2 separate regions of the Homo sapiens genome follow, and region 1 is linked to region 2. The links are contacts of gene promoters, found by promoter capture Hi-C in blood cells and fetal thymus (Javierre and others, 2016). All regions are on one chromosome and are shown on one strand. Each heading gives the region's core, a stretch centred on a gene start or on the middle of the fragment in contact. The rest is flanking DNA. Distances are from core to core; before and after follow the strand shown. Region 1 has its middle 73 kb from the start of LINC02132. Region 2 holds the start of FBXO31 (F-box protein 31).

Region 1 (3,142 bases), core at 175-2,674, 1.4 Mb after region 2:
GCTGGAGGCAAGCACTTAATGAGCACTAGCTGGGGTTAACTACATCTAAAACAAAGGGATGAGAGACGTGACCTCCAAACTCCCTGCAGGTGTGTGAGTCTGCTACGAGACCCCCTACCCCGATTCTATTTCTACCTTCTTCTTTTATTTATTTATTTGTATTTTTATTTTTTTATTTTCCTTTATGTTCTGGGATACATGGGCAGAACGTCGAGCTTTGTTACATAGGTGTACATGTGCCATGGAGGTTTGCTGCACCCATCAACCCGTCATCTAGGTTTTAAGCCCTGCATGCATTACGTATTTGTCCTAATGCTCTCCCTCCCCTTGTCCCCCACCCCCTGATAGGCCCCAGTGTGTGGTGTTCCCCTCCCTGTGTCCATGTGTTCTCACTGTTCAACTCCCACTTATGAGTGAGAACATGCGGTGTTTGGTTTTCTGTTCCTGTGTTACTTTGCTGAGGATGATGGTTTCCTGCATGCAACTCAGAACCTGGCTTCACTAGAAACGCCACTAAAAACACATCCGGACAGCCAATCTGCAGCTTCTCCATGGCCAGCTAGCATCAGCAAGCTTAACCTTAATGAAGACACCTTAACAAATAAGGTGTCCAGACAGGGCCTTCACCAAGCCCCTTCTCCTTGACTATCCACTTAGGATATGATTTCTTCCATGCCCTCTTTTCTAAAGTGCATGAGAAAATGTTGGTGAACTTGAAGACAATAGAAAGAGACACGATCTGAATAATACACAGAGAGAATAAAGACTGAAAGCAATGGGGCAGGCACAGTGGCTCACGCCTGTAATCCCAGCATTTTGGGGGGCCATGGTGGGAGGATAGCTTGAGCCCAGGAGTTCGAGACTAGCCTGGGCAACATAGTGAGACCCTATCTCTACAAAAACTAGAAAAATTAGCCAAACATGGTGGTGTGCACCGACAGTCCCAGCTACTCAGAGGGCTGAAGTGGGAGGCTTGAGCCTGGGAGGTTGATGCTGCGGTGAGCCGTAGTTGTGCCACTGTACTCCAGCCTGAGCAACAGAGTGAGACCTTGTCTAAGGGAAAAAAAAAAAAAAACAAGGCTGAAAAACGTGAGCAGATCATCTGTGAGGTGTGGGACATCAAGCACCCTAACATATGTGTCATTGGAGGCCCTTAGGATGGGGAGGAGGGTATAGAAAAAAATGCTTAAAGAAATGTCTAAAAAATACCTAAATTTGCCCGTAATCCCAGCACTTGGGAAGCCGAGGAGGGCGGATCACGAGGTCAGGAGATCGAGACCATCCTGGCTCACATGGTGAAACCCCATCTCTACTAAAAATACAAAAAAATTAGCTGGGCGTGGTGGTGGGCGCCTGTAGTCCCAGCCACTCAGGAGGCTGAGGCAGGAGAATGGTGTGAACCCAGGAGGCGGAGCTTGCAGTGAGCCGAGATGGCGCCACTGCACTCCAGCCTGGGCGACAGAGCGAGACTTCATCTCAAAAAAAAAAAAAAAAAAGAACCCTAAATGTAATGAAAACTCAGCACCCACAGATCTAAGAAGCTCCACAAATATCAAGCAGAAGAAATGAAAAAAACCACAAGGCCATGATAATCAAATTACTCAAAACTAGTGATCAAGATGAAATCTTAAAGGCAACCAGAGGGGGAAAAAATATTAGGTAAAGAGGAACAAAGGTAAGAAGGAAAGACTTCTTATACTATATGGGAAGCAGTGGAAGAACATTTGAGAGTAAGCTGTGATAAGTTAGATATGCATACAACAAACCACTAAAATAACACAGCAGAGTTAAAGCTAATAAGCCAGCAATGGAGATAAGTGTACCATTAAAATAATATTCCATCTAAAAGAAGGCAGAAAGAAAAAGGAACAAAGAACAGTAGAGACAAATAGAAAATATCTTCCAGATTGGTAGATTGAAACTCAACCATGTCAACAATTATATTAAAATAAATGACCTAAACACTGAAAAAGCAGATATTGTGAGACTGAATAAAAATGCAGGACCCAGCTTTAGTCTGACTATCAGAAACTCACTTTAAATATGTATAGAAACAAATAGGTTAAAAGTGCCACAGGCAGGTGGGGAGGGCCAGGAGAGACACAGCGTTATGCTAACACCGCAGACAGCAGGAGTGGCCGTATTAATATCTGACAAAGTAAATTTTATAGCAAGAATATGACCAGGGAGAAAGGGCCATTTCATAAAGATTAAGGGGTCTATTCATTAAGAGGCCATATGAGCCTATGTATTATCCACCTAATAACAAAGCTTTGAAATACATGACTGAACTGCAAAGAAAACTGGCACTTTCACAACTATTGTCAGAGTGTTCAGCACCCCTCTCTCAGTAATTTACAGAATAACAAAAATAAGCAAGGATACAGAAGACCTAAACACCACTATCACACAATGCGATCTACCAGCATTCATACAACACTCCATCCAACAATAGCATAACACACATTCTTTGAAAGTGCATGCAGAATGTTTACCAAAGTAAACAATATTTGAGTCATGAAACAAGTTTTAATAAACTCAAAATAATTTAAGTCATACGATGTATTTTCTTTGACCACAACGAAATTAAAATGTTTGATAACAAAATGATCTCCAGAAAAATCTAAGATTTAGAATGCAATTAACACACTTCTAAATAACATATGGGTCAAATGAAAAATGAAAATAGGAGTTAGAAAGTATGTTAAAGAGAATGAAAATGAAAACACAGCGTATCATAATCTGAGTAATGATACTGAGGCAGAACTTCAAGGGAAATGTAGAGCATCCAACCCATCTAATAAAAAGAAAAAAGTGCCCAAATGAATGACCTGATTTCCACCTAAGAAACCAGAATAAGAAGAGTAGGGTAAAACCAACACAAGCAAAAGGAAGGAAATCGTGAAGATAAGATCAGAAATGAAAGAAATAGAAACTAGAAGACAATACCAAAATCAAAGAAACCAAAACTGGTTCTTTGATAGATCAATAATATTAATAAACCTCTAACCAGACTAACAAGGAAAAAAAAAGAGAAGACACAATTACCAAAATTAGAAATGAAAGAGGTAACATTAACATAAATTCTACAGATAGTAGAAGTATAATAAGGGAAAATTATAAACAATTTCCATAAATTTGA
Region 2 (3,659 bases), core at 816-3,315:
GACAAGGTTTCACCATGTTGGCCAGGCTGATCTTGAACTCCCAACCTCAGGTGATCTGCCCGCCTTGGCCTCCCAAAGTTCTGGGATTACAGGTGTGAGCCACCAGGCCTGGCCGCTATCCTTTTTTTCTAGAACATTCTCCCATCAAGTGTTCTCCTCCTGGCTAACTCCAAATTTTCCTTTGATTTATAAATGTCATTTCCTCAAAGAACCTTTGATCATCCAAAGTCTGGTCTCTGCTATAAGATCTTGTTAGTTTTACTTATTGTTAGAGCATTACAATTTATAATTTATGTATTTATCTATGTGGTTACTTGTTTAATGGCTGATCTCCCTGGTAGATAGCAGGATGTTATTAGTTGAAACCATTTTTTTTTTTTTTTGAGACAGAGTCTTGCTCTGTCGCCCAGGCTGGAGTGCAGTGGCACGATCTTGGCTCACTGCAAGCTCTGCCTCCCGGGTTCACACCATTCTCCTGCCTCAGCCTCCCGAGTAGCTGGGACTACAGGCACCTGCCACCACACCTGGCTAATTTTTTGTATTTTTAGTAGAGACGGGGTTTCACCGTGTTAGCCAGGATGGTCTCAATCTCCTGACCTCATGATCTGCCCGCCTCGGCCTCCCAAAGTGCTGGGATTACAGGCGTGAGCCACCGCGCCCGGCCTAATTTTTTAAATTATTTGTAGAGATGGGGGCGTCTCACTATGTGGGTAGGCTGGTCTCCGACTCCTGGGCTTAACCGATCTACCCGCCTCGGCCTCCCAAAGTGCTAGAATTACAGGCGTGAGCCACTGCGCCTGGCCTGTGTGGTTTGTTTGTTTGTTTGTTTGAAGAGACAGGGTTTCACCATGTTGGTCAGGCGGGTCTCAAACTCCTGACCTCAGGTGATGCACCCTTCTCCGCCTCCCAAAGTGCTGGGATTACAGACGTGAGCCACCGCGCCCAGCCATTTGTGGCTATTTTTGTTTTTTGTTTGTTTTGGAGACAGGGTCACGCTGTGTTGCCCAGGCTGAAGTGCAGTGGCACCATCACGGGTCACTACAGCCTCGGCCTCCTGGGATCAAGCGATCCTCCCGTCTCAGCTTCTCTTTCTAAAATTTTGTTTTGTAGACAGGGTCTCGCTGTATTGCCCAGGCCGGTCTCGAGCTCCTGGCCTCGATTGATACTCCCGCCTGGGCCTCCAAGAGATGGGGTCCGAGGCGAGCCCACGGCGACGTGCGCGGCTGCTCAGGTGAGAGGACGCCTTCGCGGTCACCACCCGCGGACCTGGGAGACGACCCCGCTCAGCGGCCTCGGCGGAGCCCAGCTGGAGCAGGCGTGCGCGGCTCCCAGCAGCTGCAGGAACAGGCGCCCTTTGGGCGGCGCCGCATGGCAGGGCCTCCCTTTCCAGACCGGGCGCGCATCCCCGGATCTCTTGGGCCGCGCCGGCCGCCGCCCCTCCAAGCCCTCCCCGGGGCTTCCGCAGGGAGCTCGGGATCCCCGAAGGTCCCTGCAGAGCTCCGCAGCTCGGGCCTTTTGGTTACCATAAGGCGGAGACGATGGAACGCGCGTTGTTTCAATGGACAAAAGGGCTTCTAGGCGCCCTTTGGGGTTCTGGCTGCTGCCTCTGTATTTGGAGGCTGTAAGGCGCATCTTTCTACTCACCGGCCGGCGCGGCACAGTTTCGGGCGCCGGAAGCGGGACGCACGGGCGCGAGGGGCGACCCCTATCTCCACAAAAGCCGCGGCGCGAAGTGGTCGCCGAGCAGCCTCGTTAGCGCAGTAGGCAGCGCGTCAGTCTCATAATCTGAAGGTCGTGAGTTCGAGCCTCACACGGGGCAGTCTAACGTTTTGCACTCGGCATCACCACTTTCTTTTCTCATGCCCGTCACGGGCGGCGCCCTCACGCTGGAGGGGAGGGCAGCAGTGCGGGGTCTCTGAGGTCGCCGCCCCGCGGGGAGGGGGTGGCGCGGCCGGGGCGGAGCTCTACGTAGGGGCGGGGCTAGGCTCTCCAGGGGGCGTGGCGAGCTCTGCGGCGGGGGCGTGGCTCGGCGCTGGCGGGGCGGGGCCGCGCTGGAGCGTGCGCACAGGCGGCAGCAGTGGCCGTCACTGGGCGGCATGGCGGTGTGTGCTCGCCTTTGCGGCGTGGGCCCGTCGCGCGGATGTCGGCGCCGCCAGCAGCGCCGGGGCCCGGCCGAGACGGCGGCGGCCGACAGCGAGCCGGACACAGACCCCGAGGAGGAGCGCATCGAGGCTAGCGCCGGGGTCGGGGGCGGCTTGTGCGCGGGCCCCTCGCCGCCGCCCCCGCGCTGCTCGCTGCTGGAGCTGCCGCCCGAGCTGCTGGTGGAGATCTTCGCGTCGCTGCCGGGCACGGACCTACCCAGCTTGGCCCAGGTCTGCACGAAGTTCCGGCGCATCCTCCACACCGACACCATCTGGAGGAGGCGTTGCCGTGAGGGTGAGCGCGCGGGGGTGGCGGGGCCGGGAGGGGCGGGGGGTCCCTGCCAGGTGGAGGCCTCGGAGCTGGGAGTGGCGGGGGCGGTGGCCCCGGCCGGGGGCCACCAGTTGGGCGCGGGGCCCGGCGATGTGGTGTTTTGGGTGTGGGTGGGGAGCGGCCGCGGTGACACCACGTTGAGGGGGCCAGGGAGGTATTTGAGGCGGTTAGGGAGGGTCCGAGGGGTCCAAGAGAGGCAGACGGGGTAGGGAGGGGTTGAGGGCGTCAGGGAGGCATCGAAGAGGCCCTGACGCGGGGCACGGGACACCACGGGGCCGAGGCCGTGCCGGGAGCTGGGGCTGGGATCCCTCGAGGTCTGCGCGGGGCCTAAGCTGACGCCTGGGGGCCGCCTCCTCTGCCCCTGTCTTGAAGGCGAGCCGAGGGTGCCCCGCTGGCCCTGACCAGAGACGAGGTGAACTTGAAGAAATGGGAGCAGGCCGGGCGCGGTTTCACGCCTGTAATCTCAGCACTTAGGGAGGCCGAGGCGGGCGGGTCACCTGAGGTCAGGAGTTCGAGACCAGCCTGGTGAAGATGGTAAAACCCCGTCTCTACTTACAAAAATACAAAAATTAGCCGGGCGTGGTAGCGGGCGCCTGTAATCCCAGCTACTCGGGAGGGTGAGGCAGAAGAATGGCTTGAACCCGGGAGGCGGAGGTTGCACTGAGCCAACATCTGGGCCATTGCACTCCACCCTAGGCGACAGAGTGCGACTTGGTCTCAAACAACAGCAACAAAAAAAATTACGGGAGTAGGGGAAGCCCAGTGTCGGGGGCTCCTGATGGTGGGGGCGTAGAGAGACGGATGGATCACAGCGGTGCGGGCTGGACTTTTGCCTTCAGCAATATTGGATGTAACAGATCACAGGAGGAGATGTTTATTTAATCTGGAGTTCAAGGCTCTCTCTGTTTAAAGGTTGACAGCTCTTTGATGTTCAAGCAGCTCATATTTAGGTAAAAAGGACAGGTTAGAAAACATCCAAGCGATGCAGAACAGCAAAAGGAACAAAGTAAATACCATCAGAGACCCCAGCAGTCAAAAATAAACCACTCTTAACATTTTAAAAAACCTCTGAGTCGTGTGTACCTTCTTCCCTAAAGGATATAATGCAATATATATTCTCTTAGAGACAGTGTAGTGTAAACAATGCTACATAGTATTTCACTCCCTGCATGTAGCACAGACTCGTC

What was found. Contacts are between HindIII fragments. The CHiCAGO score rates a contact against its expected background, and 5 or more counts as called.
Region 1: a contact is called between a fragment that was not itself captured here and the fragment with the promoter of FBXO31 in region 2, in 1 of 17 cell types (M0 macrophages). The highest score is 5.4, in M0 macrophages.

Annotation. Positions count from the first base shown.
Region 1 is chr16:86,007,352-86,010,493 of GRCh38, reverse strand. No RefSeq gene overlaps it. Among named protein-coding and RNA genes, the nearest start is that of LINC02132, 73 kb to the right of the region's middle. The HindIII fragment of the contact is 1,698 bases long and covers 576-2,273 here.
Region 2 is chr16:87,382,182-87,385,840 of GRCh38, reverse strand. It overlaps FBXO31 (F-box protein 31), which reads left to right and starts at 2,065. Exons shown (of 9, transcript NM_024735.5): 1 at 2,065-2,436. The coding sequence starts at 2,097. It overlaps TRM-CAT6-1 (tRNA-Met (anticodon CAT) 6-1), which reads left to right and starts at 1,747; the gene lies at 1,747-1,819. LOC124903747 (a long non-coding RNA gene) reads right to left here and starts at 1,908. Exons shown (of 2, transcript XR_007065168.1): 1 at 1,645-1,908. RefSeq lists enhancers at 957-1,608, 1,609-2,262 and silencers at 1,670-2,329, 2,470-2,709. The HindIII fragment of the contact is 7,278 bases long and covers 1-3,659 here.